Regions from separate parts of the Homo sapiens genome. Here region 2 is linked to region 1. Evidence: promoter capture Hi-C in human tissues and cell types (Jung and others, 2019). All regions are on one chromosome and are shown on one strand. Each heading gives the region's core, a stretch centred on a gene start or on the middle of the fragment in contact. The rest is flanking DNA. Distances are from core to core; before and after follow the strand shown. Region 1 holds the start of BRINP2 (BMP/retinoic acid inducible neural specific 2). Region 2 overlaps ASTN1 (astrotactin 1).

Region 1 (5,316 bases), core at 1,853-4,352:
TTGATCTTCATGAAATCTAACTTTCATTATGTCATTCTAGTTTTTCTTTTTCTACATGATAAAGCTGAAAACCCATGGTTTAGAAATTTTAAAACTCTTCTAATCTCACACTGTTTTTTAGATAGTTTGCTCACTGCACTATATCTCTATCCTCCCACCACACATGTGCACACAGACACACACATCTCTCAATCAAATTAAAATCTATTTCCTATTTTCACTCCTCCCATAACATTCTGTCCACCTGAAGTGCAACACTCTTTATTCTTCAGATTGTCCCATCTCTCCAAGCTAATCTGCAGCTGCACCTATGCAGTGAGAACTTCCATCACTTCCCTTCTTTTAGCTCCATTCCCTGGGCATTTATTTACATCTCCCCCAACATCTACACATATACATACACATACACTCAGGAAAGCAAGAGCTATTTCCTAATACAAAGTCTTAAATTCAATATTCTTATTTGCAAAACAGGAATAATACATAGTTTTGGGGGTGGTTGTGAGGAGGAAATGAGATTATGTATGTAAACAATGTGACACATTTTAGGCATTTAGTTGGCACTCAGTAGCGATAGCCTTTGCCACTATCACCTTATTCAATTATTTTGGCAAGATAATAGGCTTCAGAGTCATCTTCATGAGATTTTCTCCAGTGTAGTAGTCAAAGCAAATTAAGTAATGTATAGTCCTTGGTGTTTTCCCAGAGGAAATGATTGCATACATCCACCAAAAGACAAGCACAAAAACATTTATAACAAGTTTACTTATAATAGCCAAAAAACCCCAGAAACATCCCAAATATCTATCAAGAACAGAATGAATAAATGCCATGTAGTCATGTAATAGAGTGGTGCACCGCAATAAAACATACAACTACATGGATAAATCTCAGAGACAAAATGATGAGTGAAAGGATCAAGACACAAAAGAGTGTATACTCTAAGATCCTATATTTACAAAGTTCAAGAGCAAGTAACATTAATCTTTGGTGATGGAAGTCAGAATATAATTATCTCTGGGGAGTGGAGGGTTTTGACTGAGAACGTTCACGAACATGCTTCCTGCAGTGCTGGAAATAAAGTGAGTAATGGTTACATTGATGCATATATAGGCAAGAATTAAACTATACACTTGTGGCAATTCTTAATGTATATTCTGCCTCTTTAAAATTTTTTACACGGCTTCAGACTTTATAGGAGAAGAAAGTACAAGCAAGTTTTCTTTTTCAAGTTGTCTTCTTATCTGCCATCACCTCTTTCCTCTCTCTTTTACAGATTTTGGAAATTTTAACTTTCTTTCCATTGAAATTAGCAATCCTTTGTTCAACCTCTCCCTCTATTTACCCACTCCCTTATGCTATTTTAACATTTCAGTATGTTGTCACTTGGGACAAGTTCAGTGGGTCTCTGCCTCTAGAAATCACAAAAGTAAATAACTCAGCAGTTGGGTAGCAATAGATTTAGGCTCTCAGTGGTTCTCTTGGTTATTTTATTCTAGAAAGAGAGCTCAGGACCCTGTGGGACCACCATTCTCTGACATGTTTTGTAGCTTAGGCAAACAGATACTTGCAGTATGCAGAAGGAAGTTCAACGTTGTATAAGATACAGAGAAGAAAATATAGGTGAAAGTGATAGATGTGTGAGTCTGAGGGGATGAATGAAGAAAATTTCTAATTTTTCTTTATTCATTCAGAACTTACGGCTACTTGATGCAGTTTAGCTAATCTCCATGTGTACTTCTTACACATTCATTAAATCTCTACATACTTTTTTTTTCTAGTTCTTTACAAAATAATCTCCGATGTTGCTCTCCATTTAAGGAAACTAAATTGAAAGACTCCTCTCGCTTTCTGACTATATATTTATCTTCTTCATACTTCCCCCACCACATGACTTAGCATGGATCTCCCAAGTTCCTTCCCCAGCTCCAGCCCCCAGCTCTTCCCTTGAATTGGATTTTTCTTCAACTATTACTCTTTTTCCTATGCTCCTGCCAAAATCTAGTTTAGTATGCTAGTTAGCGGGACATGTTTCAGTTTTGTACCCTCATTAGGATATCAAAAATATATACTTCACACTTCAATGTAAAGTTAATATTTTCTTCCCTTCTCCTTTCCTCCCTTTTCCCTCCACCTCCCTCCCTTTTTTCCTCCCTCCCTCTCTTTCAATTCACAGGCCCAGCAACAGCACCTGCTTCACAGAAACAAGGCTGGTCCTGTTCTGATTTCTCTAGTCTTCCTTTAAAAACTAAACGGAGATGCACAGTCCCTCTTCCTGACACACACAGAAGTGAAAGGAGACACACAGAGGGAAAACACCACAGGCAAAACAATTCCCTTTTTTGGAGGGACATTTTTGAAACTTAATCTCTCCCCAGAAACCTGAAGTTCTCCTCTTTGCCTTTGTCCTTACAGTCCTGGTGTGGGGGCAGAATGTTTCCTGATTTAGCTGTCCTGGCCTCTAAATCTGTTTCACTCTCTAGCCATCTTACTGGGTTCTTGCTCTCTTTTGCCTCTCTCTCCTCTTGGGTCTCTGGGGTGTGTGTGTGTGTGTGTGTGTGTGTGTGTGTGTGTACTATTTCTCACTTGGGGGCTCATTTCTAATTAAGTAATCCAAGAGGCTAAAAAATGCACAAAACAACCAAATGAAACCTCAAATTAGATGGAAAATGGCTCAGATGGGTCCCAATCTCTGGGAGTTCTAGTTAAGCAAGCAAACAAAATGGGCTGGGATAAATGATTATTGTAACTCAGGAAGATTAGAAGAAAATGTAATTAGCTCCCCAGCTACTTCTTGTTCCCCAGCCTTTTTAAGAGTGTCCAACGCCCCACCCGTGAATGTACCCAAGGCTTCCTTATACACACCAAAAAGTCCCCACTGCAACGCTGGGAGGGTTAACAGAGCTGGTACCCCAGCCTGCCAGCTCACCAAAGGAGAGAGCGGTGAGGCTCAGAGCCCGCCCCCTGCCAAGCCGCCCAGCCAATGGGCACCTGTGGGGAGTGTGGCGCTGTGTCCCATTGGCTGCCAACCTACATGCATAAGAAAGAAAGAGAGAGGCAGGCAGGGCAGCATTGTTATCTTAAGACACTCATCTGGTGTCTGAGTCTGCAGGTGACACTGCTTAGGTACGGAGCGCGGAGTCGGAGCGGGGACGCGCCGGGCTGCAGCTCTGGGATGCAATCCGCCTGCCTCGCAAGCTGCTCGCCGCTGCGCTGGCAGCGCTTACGCTGAGCTCGGAGGATCCCATTAGGACTTGCCCGGGGATGTGCACCTGCCGTGCGCTCCGAGGTCAGTGGCAGGTCTGCAGGCAGCCGAGGGAGCGGTGAAGCCGGAAGACCTGTCTCTGCCCATGTGCAAGGCAGTGATTTCGGGTGAGAGAGCGGGTGGGTGAGTCTCTTTAGAGTTGGAAAGAAGGCAAAATCTTGGGTTTCTCCTCGGCGGAGGGACAGGGGACTCCCCCAGTTGGGTCTTGCACTTCCCTTACCTCTCCCACCCCGCGTGCGCCCCGGCCCAGTGCCGAAGCCCCACTTCAAAGATGCTCTGGGAGACCGGGATCCTGGCTGCTCAGCGGGAAGGCAGCAGGCAAGTGGTCTAACGTTGGCGGCGGTGGCGGTGGCGGCGGCGGCGGCACCGACAGTAAAGCGGGGAGCAAGAGAATTTGAAAAGAGACATCCGCTCCCTCTCACACGCTGAGGGGGAGGCATTCGCGTTTCCCCAAATGAGAAAGAACCACAAGAAATCATGAAGTAAAAACTTTGGAAAGCTGCCACTGGAGATGTTGCACAAAAACCTGGAATCTTTTAGGAGTCTCCTCCCAGTCGTTGAAGGTTTGGGGAGCAGCTGATACAGCAAGGAGGGCTCTTGCAAGGATTCAAGGTAACAGTGCAGGGTTTCGGTGATTTTTCTCCCCTTTTCATTGTCCTTTTTGGTGTGTCCGTTGGTAAAGGGACCATTTTGCTCTCATACAACCCTCTTGCCCTGGTGCCTGGCAGTGGCAGGCAGAGGGAATGATGCCACCTCTCCTAGTTTCTGTCTTGTGGAGTTGAGCAATGGACTTTGGGGTTGAGCTAGAGATTGCTCTGGTATTGCCTCCTGGTGTTGCATGGCTGTCAGAGGGTTTGGGCTCCCTGCCTGACCTATATTGCTTTTGCCTGGTTTAAGTCCTCAAAGTTAGTGCAACTCCTATTAGCTTCAGAAAATTCAATAGGGCTGCATAATTGCAGAAGATGACGAGGACTTTTGCCTGCCCAGCTGACGCTGGGAGGTTCATTATGTTTGGGAAGGAGCCCAAAGAGCTGAGGTTACAATGCACGATATCTATATTATCGTGCTCATAGAGCCCTATGGCATGTTTCCCATGCACATGCAGTCAGGAAAATAAAATTCCAAACAGTGAACCCTGTAGGTTGCAAATAGTCTCCCCAGGGTGGTGGCAGAAGCCCCATTGATTGACTTGAGCCTGGCAGAGCACTGGAGACACTAGGGAAGAACATTGCTGTGCTGAAAGGTGGGATGTGCTGGTATCATCTAGCAGATCTCTGTCTCTGTTTTTGTGATCATCTGGGTACACTGTCGAATGCTGCCTGTGGTGTGTGTATGTATGTGTGCTTGTGCTCACAGCTGTATGCAGGAAACAGGCTGCCCACAGAAGAACCAAGCATGTCCAGCACCCTGTCCAAATCACGGATGCCTGGAGTGTTCCTGCCTAGTAGGAACACGAACTTGTGAGCTGTTGTTCCAGCCCAGAGGACTCTTCTCCTCACCAAGCAGTCCCTCTGCATGGTACATATTTATCCAGGGTATATAGACCTAAGCCAAATGTTAACCAATGTTCAAGCTAATGCACTGTAATGTGATTGAACAGACCCCTCTGTAAAGAATTGTGTGTGTGCTCTTTGCAGCCCTAGGAGCAGGGTGCTATGAGCAGAAACAAATGTTTTGTTAAAAGGATAACAATTATAAAAGGTCAAGCTTATAGTTGGGTAATCTAGGCCTTATTCAGCAGGGACATTGTTATGTCAGCATAGACCAATCAGAGGGATAAAAGGTATATTATAAGTCAAGTATTTCTGCTTCTGTCCTTCTCCAGACATGTGCATGTTGAAGTGACTCTCTCTGACCATGCTCGCTAAAATACATGCAATGCCAGTATTAACCAAGCAACTAAAGTATACCAAATCCCCCGGGGGGCAGTCTGATGACATCAGGCAACAGCAAAGTGATGCTGGAGTTTGTGTGCTTTCCCTCCTGACTCACACAGTTGTGTGTATGTTATTTGTTTAAGGCATGACCCTCTGGAGTCCCCCTTCACCCAG
Region 2 (5,518 bases), core at 172-2,671, 100 kb before region 1:
TGGAAGTAGGTCACTCTACGCTACTCTGTACTGGCATGAATAGCAATCGAGCAACTACATGAACATTCTATTTACCTAGCCATGGAGATGAAAACATTCCTGTGGGGGAAAAATGCAGCCAAAAGGTTCTGACACAACCAGACAGATGAGGAGGCATTCGAATGACTTGTGATTTCATCCAAACTGATTTGCTTGTTCCTACCACAGTGTTTCTCTGGATCTTTTCAAACCTCTGCAAAGAGTTTATCCACATGATACTCATTAAAGTCTCATTTGAAAGGATAAAGAAAAAAAAAAAAGCCCAAAGCTTTTTGAAAAAGGCAGGGTTATCTGAGCTGCAAATACACTGGTAAAAGGATTTTTTACTTATATCTATTTCTATTCTCCACTGCCACCCGACTGACTTTTGTAAATTGAGATAACAGCAGGCATTTAATGGAATCTGACATCAAGTAAGGTATGTAATAATATTTAAACTCCATAATGTTAAAATATGTATTTACAGATCATTTCATACATTGTAATGAGAATAAGTCATTTTGAAGCCTGAAGTTTCACGACTGGAATTCTGATTTGAGCTTTGCAAGTCCTTGAGGGCCACTCTCCTGCAGTGATGTGTTGGGAGCAACATGGATGCCGGAATTTTGGAAAAAGTCAAAACACTGGTCACAGGGTGATTGTAAGAAAACTGTATACTAGACCCAGTGAGAGATCTGTTCATTCCAAATCCTCTGTCTTATACTCCTGGTCTTTCATTAACAAAGAGATTAGTATTTGCTATAATTTTCTGATCCTAAACGATTTCAGTAAGGTCCTCTCTATGGCTCTTGCCTTATAAAATGAATGGAAAAAAGAATTGAAAATGACTAAATATCACCTGTAAATGAGTTACAAAAGAATAGCCTGTTGCCTGTCCTAAACTGTTTTCATTCATCTCCATTTCTAATTAGTTCTCATCCACTTGTATTTCTGTTCTTATCATCTAAGATTCAACTCAACAAGTAATAATGTATGCACTGGCTCTGCTAAGAAGCCCTTTCAGTATTCATGAACTAACTTAATACACAATGACCCTTTCGTGTGAGTATGTATATCTGTATTTTAGAGATGAGGAACTTGAGTTCCAGAATAGTCAACCTACTTGACCAAGTTCACCCCGTGAGTAAATATTAGAATGGTAGGGGTGGGAGTGGCAATTGAGTGGGGAATCTTAGGTCTCCTGGTTTTAAGGCCACTGTTGTTTTTCACTATCTCAACGTTCATTCCCTCACTTTGCAAATCTCAGTCTTGGGATAATACAAACAAAGTGCTTAGCAGTACCTGGAGTTTAACACTAATATCATCATCAATATCATTAATACTGTTTGTTGTCATTATTACTATCACTCACATAAATCCTAAAATTGAGCAACAATCTTTGACAGAATTAAGCAAATTATACCTTTAAATAGCTTCAGCTGCTTAAACGTCTTCATAAGTCCAGGAACTATAAGTCCAGGAATCAGCTCAGTTCCAGTTGAGAAGCCCAGGGCAAGTCGTATTTGTACATTTCTGTAAGTACTCATTAGCAAATTGAACAATCTTTAGATGTCTCTGATAAAACTCCACGTACACTATTTATGCTTTAAGACTTGGCTATGGGGGCTTTCACAGAGGGATGCCATGCTATCTAGGCCCATTCTAGGCTGGCATGCAAGGCCAGCCCCAGGGAGCTTGTTGTCAGGCACTTAGCAAGGCACTCATGAATTCAAATGGGCAGTTCCTTCCAGGACATCAGGGTGGTGATTGTGGTCAGGGAAGAGGGAAGGAGCAAATGGATGCAATATTAAAATAACAGTTATGCTTTTATCAGTAGTAAACTGAGTCCTTCTCTGTAGACTAGTCTGTGTGAGCACCTGTCATCATAAATGCCAAGAAGTACTGCACTCAAGTACAACCTTCCATTCTCATCCTCATTCTAGGGAACAGGCTTTCCACCCCATTCCTACAGAGGCCTAAGCTTACCTTGCTGACCCTGAGCACTGCCTTCTTGCACATACAAACAGCCAGGGAGCCCAAGCTGGAGGGCCAGTCATTTCTCTTGGCTCTTCTTTATAAGCCATTTTCTCCTACAGAAAAGTGGGCATAAGTGACCTGTAAAGCTTCTTCTCACTCTAAACCTTTCTGGTATTTTTTGTCTCTCTGTGATTTGCAATTGCCATAATGGGGGCTGGACCTCAAGTTCCTTCAGAGTAAGGCTGAGACATGATAGTAATCTTAGGTATCTCTGTGGCATCATTCAGCCTGAGAAAGTGGAGTGTAGAGGGAATTCCACAAAGACTCAAGCACGTGAAGAATACCTTATTATCATCCCTGTGTTACAACTTGCAAAGGCCTTTCTTCTAAGGTCCTCTCTTCATTCATCATTTCTGTGTGGTAGGCTTTACAGAATTAGAAACCAGAAGGCCAATGAGGGTAAGTGACAATTTCAAGGGTTAGAGCTAATAAGATGGAGATAACAGCCTTCTGACTCCTGGCACAGTGCTCTTGCTACAGACTGTGCTGTCTACCAAACCGATGTTTATTTACACTGAGAAATCATGAGCCACTATGCTTGTATTTCAGCTTAATGAATTAGGTATACAGAAGATATACATCAATAGTAAACACTGTCAGGAGTTTGAAGAGTTTGGGCTTATAGATCCAAGACTGAAATTGAGTTATTAACCTATTCACACTAGTGTACAAATCATATGGCAATCTGATGTGATTTCATTGTGACAGACTCTCCTGAAGAATCACATCTGCATAGTATTTGGTTTGTTACTGGTCTAAAGACTCTCCACACTGCCTTGGGCCCATTTCTGTAGGCTAATTTGTGTAAGGTACTCATCACTGAAGGGGTTAAGATGACCTCTAAATGACCTGACAGGCATAGCTCCATGGAAACGTTGATTTAGCCATCTAATCCCTGCTGGGAGAATGATTTAAAAGAAATACAAGGTCACTTGATTGCTAAGGTATCTTGTTGCTCAGCTGAGAATAACATACATTGACAGAACAGTTTCTTTATTATTGCCCCTTCTGTATTTTCTATCTTAATTCTAAAGCCCTCCCTCCTCTACAAGCCCTCCAAACAAAATACACTTTAAGGGGCTGGTAATAAGAAACAGGAGCCATGCATTCTACATGAATAACGTCTTTCAGAAAATAGATGAAGTCTATGCACCATGTGGCACCCATCAGTGGTGCCACTCCTCACACCTACGTGTGCTGGTCACTGTAGTGCTGCTTGTGTTTGAATGTCTGTGTTCATATTCTCATACTTCACGGTAGCACTGGCCCATTAGTTTGAGATTTTAACTAAAACAATGTTAGTTGCGTTTTGCAAAATGAAAAAAAAAAGTGCTGGGTTTTCTTCCTCTGATGTGTAAGAGCACGTCCCAAAGGAATATGGCTGTAGTTTCACATATAAGCTAGATTGTAAACAAAAGTGACAGTAACTGGAATGAATGGATGATTCACCTTAAATCAGGACACAAAGACAGAAATTAGGGAGAGGTATACAGCATTGGTAGCTTCTCCATCTACTCCTCATTCTGGAGCCAAAAAGGCACAGAGCTGGAAGGTAATTCTGTGCCAGGGGACATTCATCCTCCCAGACATCAACCTTAAAGCTGAGGTCAGTCTTAGCTACTTGGCAACTGACTCTGTCTCTTTCATTCATAAACTGTTTAGTATTTTTTTGTTTTGTTTACTATATCTGTATTTTGCGATTGTACTATACTTTGGGAAGCAAGTTTCATATAAATCATACCTTCAGGGTTAAGCAGTACTTCCTTTCATTTGCCCTAAACTCATCTTCCTTGGGTTTGAAAAACTTTGAGTCCTAGCAGTTGAATATTTGGTGAACAAGGTCACATATACTTTAATGTGATAAGCCTGGATCACATTCCTCTCTTAGTCTGCCTTGTATCAGGAGACTCATTCATATTTCTTTCATCCTTATTTGGCTATTGCATCTAGTATGTGCCAGGCTTTTTATTCTACCTTCATAGAACCACACCTACTTCCTACTGATTATTACACTTACTTTTCTGTGCATGTTCGCTGGGTTCATTAAATACATTCCCTAGAGCAGAGTAATGTGGCACTGCAGAAACAGGGAGGGTTCTAATATCAGGAAACCGAAATCTGAGGCAAGGCTCTTGCACATACTACCTCTGAAAACTTTATGCCTCAGTTTCCCTATCTTTCAAAAAATGGAGATAACACAAACATCTATCAAAGGGCTGTTAAAGTGAAAGTGCACATGGAAATGCTTAGAAATATGAGTTACCATTATTAGTAATATTAATATTATCATTAAAGATTAGTGACAAGAATAACCTTTTTTAATTCCTGGTTAAAAAAAAAAGTCAATACAGCTCTACATAAGGGTAGAATACTATTGTGTTCCTCACATCCTTCATAAAGCCACTTGTTCCCCTTTTTTAGCCATGACTTCATGTAGGGTCAGTGTTTTCAGAGAATGATTTTAATGAACTCTAAGTTATTTCCTGAATCATTAATGATATGACAAAGATCCTTTTATTTCATAACTATAGCTGGAGTCTTTACCTGTGAGGGCATTACCTTGAAGTTGGTCACAGGAAAATCATCTCTCCTTTCTGCCCTCTAACACTGATCTTCTTACAGTCTGTCTCCATTGACTTGACTTTTTAGTATAAGGTTCAGTATCATCTATATCATTTATAAAGATTGTTAATCATATTGCTTTCATAATAACTGAGTCTCCATGCCCAACAAATATAGTAACTTACCATTTTTTCAAAAAATAGATCTTAAAGGGAGGATCTATCAAAAGCTTTTTAAAAATCTAAGTCGATCTCCTTGATCACTATGTATGGCACACCCCTACAGGACACTCATTCAGGCTTGGTTTCTCTGTACAGATTCCCACTGTTACCATGTCCCCCTTCACAACTGTAATCCCTTACACTCATGCTAGGTTCCATTTACAAATCTCATCTGTTGTCATCAACTTTAATGGTCTGACTCATTGAGGGGACAGAGTCCTTGCAGACAAGAATCTTTTGCTGGATAAGGTTGAATTAGATACTTTGATATCACCTTTCCTAACTTCTCTGCAATTCTTCATGATGCACGTATGTGTTTTATGCAGCACCAGGAATTTAACTATTTTTATCTGGTTGCCTGATTTGTGGTATTCTCAGTATTCATTATTACTTATTTTAGTACTTCAATTTCAAGAGGTAACATGCTTGTTGAAATATCACAAATTCTTCAATAAAAACTGAAAATAATTATTTCATCATTATTTTTCTCACTTTTTGCCTCTGCAGTAATAAAATAATTTGGTAGTTTCTAACTGGCACCATTTTCTCATATCTTGTGGGATCTCTTATTGGTAACCCGGGTGGTTACAAATTAATTTCTATCTCACACCCATTGCTTTATATACAGTTAATTAATAATCTATTAAATTCTTCCAATTTCTTGCTTTTTTTTATTTTGA

The links. Contacts are between HindIII fragments. The study calls those that stand out against the background at their distance.
Region 2: a contact is called between a fragment that was not itself captured here and the fragment with the promoter of BRINP2 in region 1, in 3 of the 25 tissues and cell types used here (dorsolateral prefrontal cortex, hippocampus and psoas muscle).

The regions. Positions count from the first base shown.
Region 1 is chr1:177,167,856-177,173,171 of GRCh38, forward strand. It overlaps BRINP2 (BMP/retinoic acid inducible neural specific 2), which reads left to right and starts at 3,103. Exons shown (of 8, transcript NM_021165.4): 1 at 3,103-3,877. RefSeq lists enhancers at 2,741-3,330, 3,331-3,919. The HindIII fragment of the contact is 8,375 bases long and covers 1-5,316 here.
Region 2 is chr1:177,069,576-177,075,093 of GRCh38, forward strand. The region is part of intron 1 of ASTN1 (astrotactin 1); the gene reads right to left. Among named protein-coding and RNA genes, the nearest start is that of MIR488, 43 kb to the left of the region's middle. The HindIII fragment of the contact is 4,144 bases long and covers 1-3,493 here.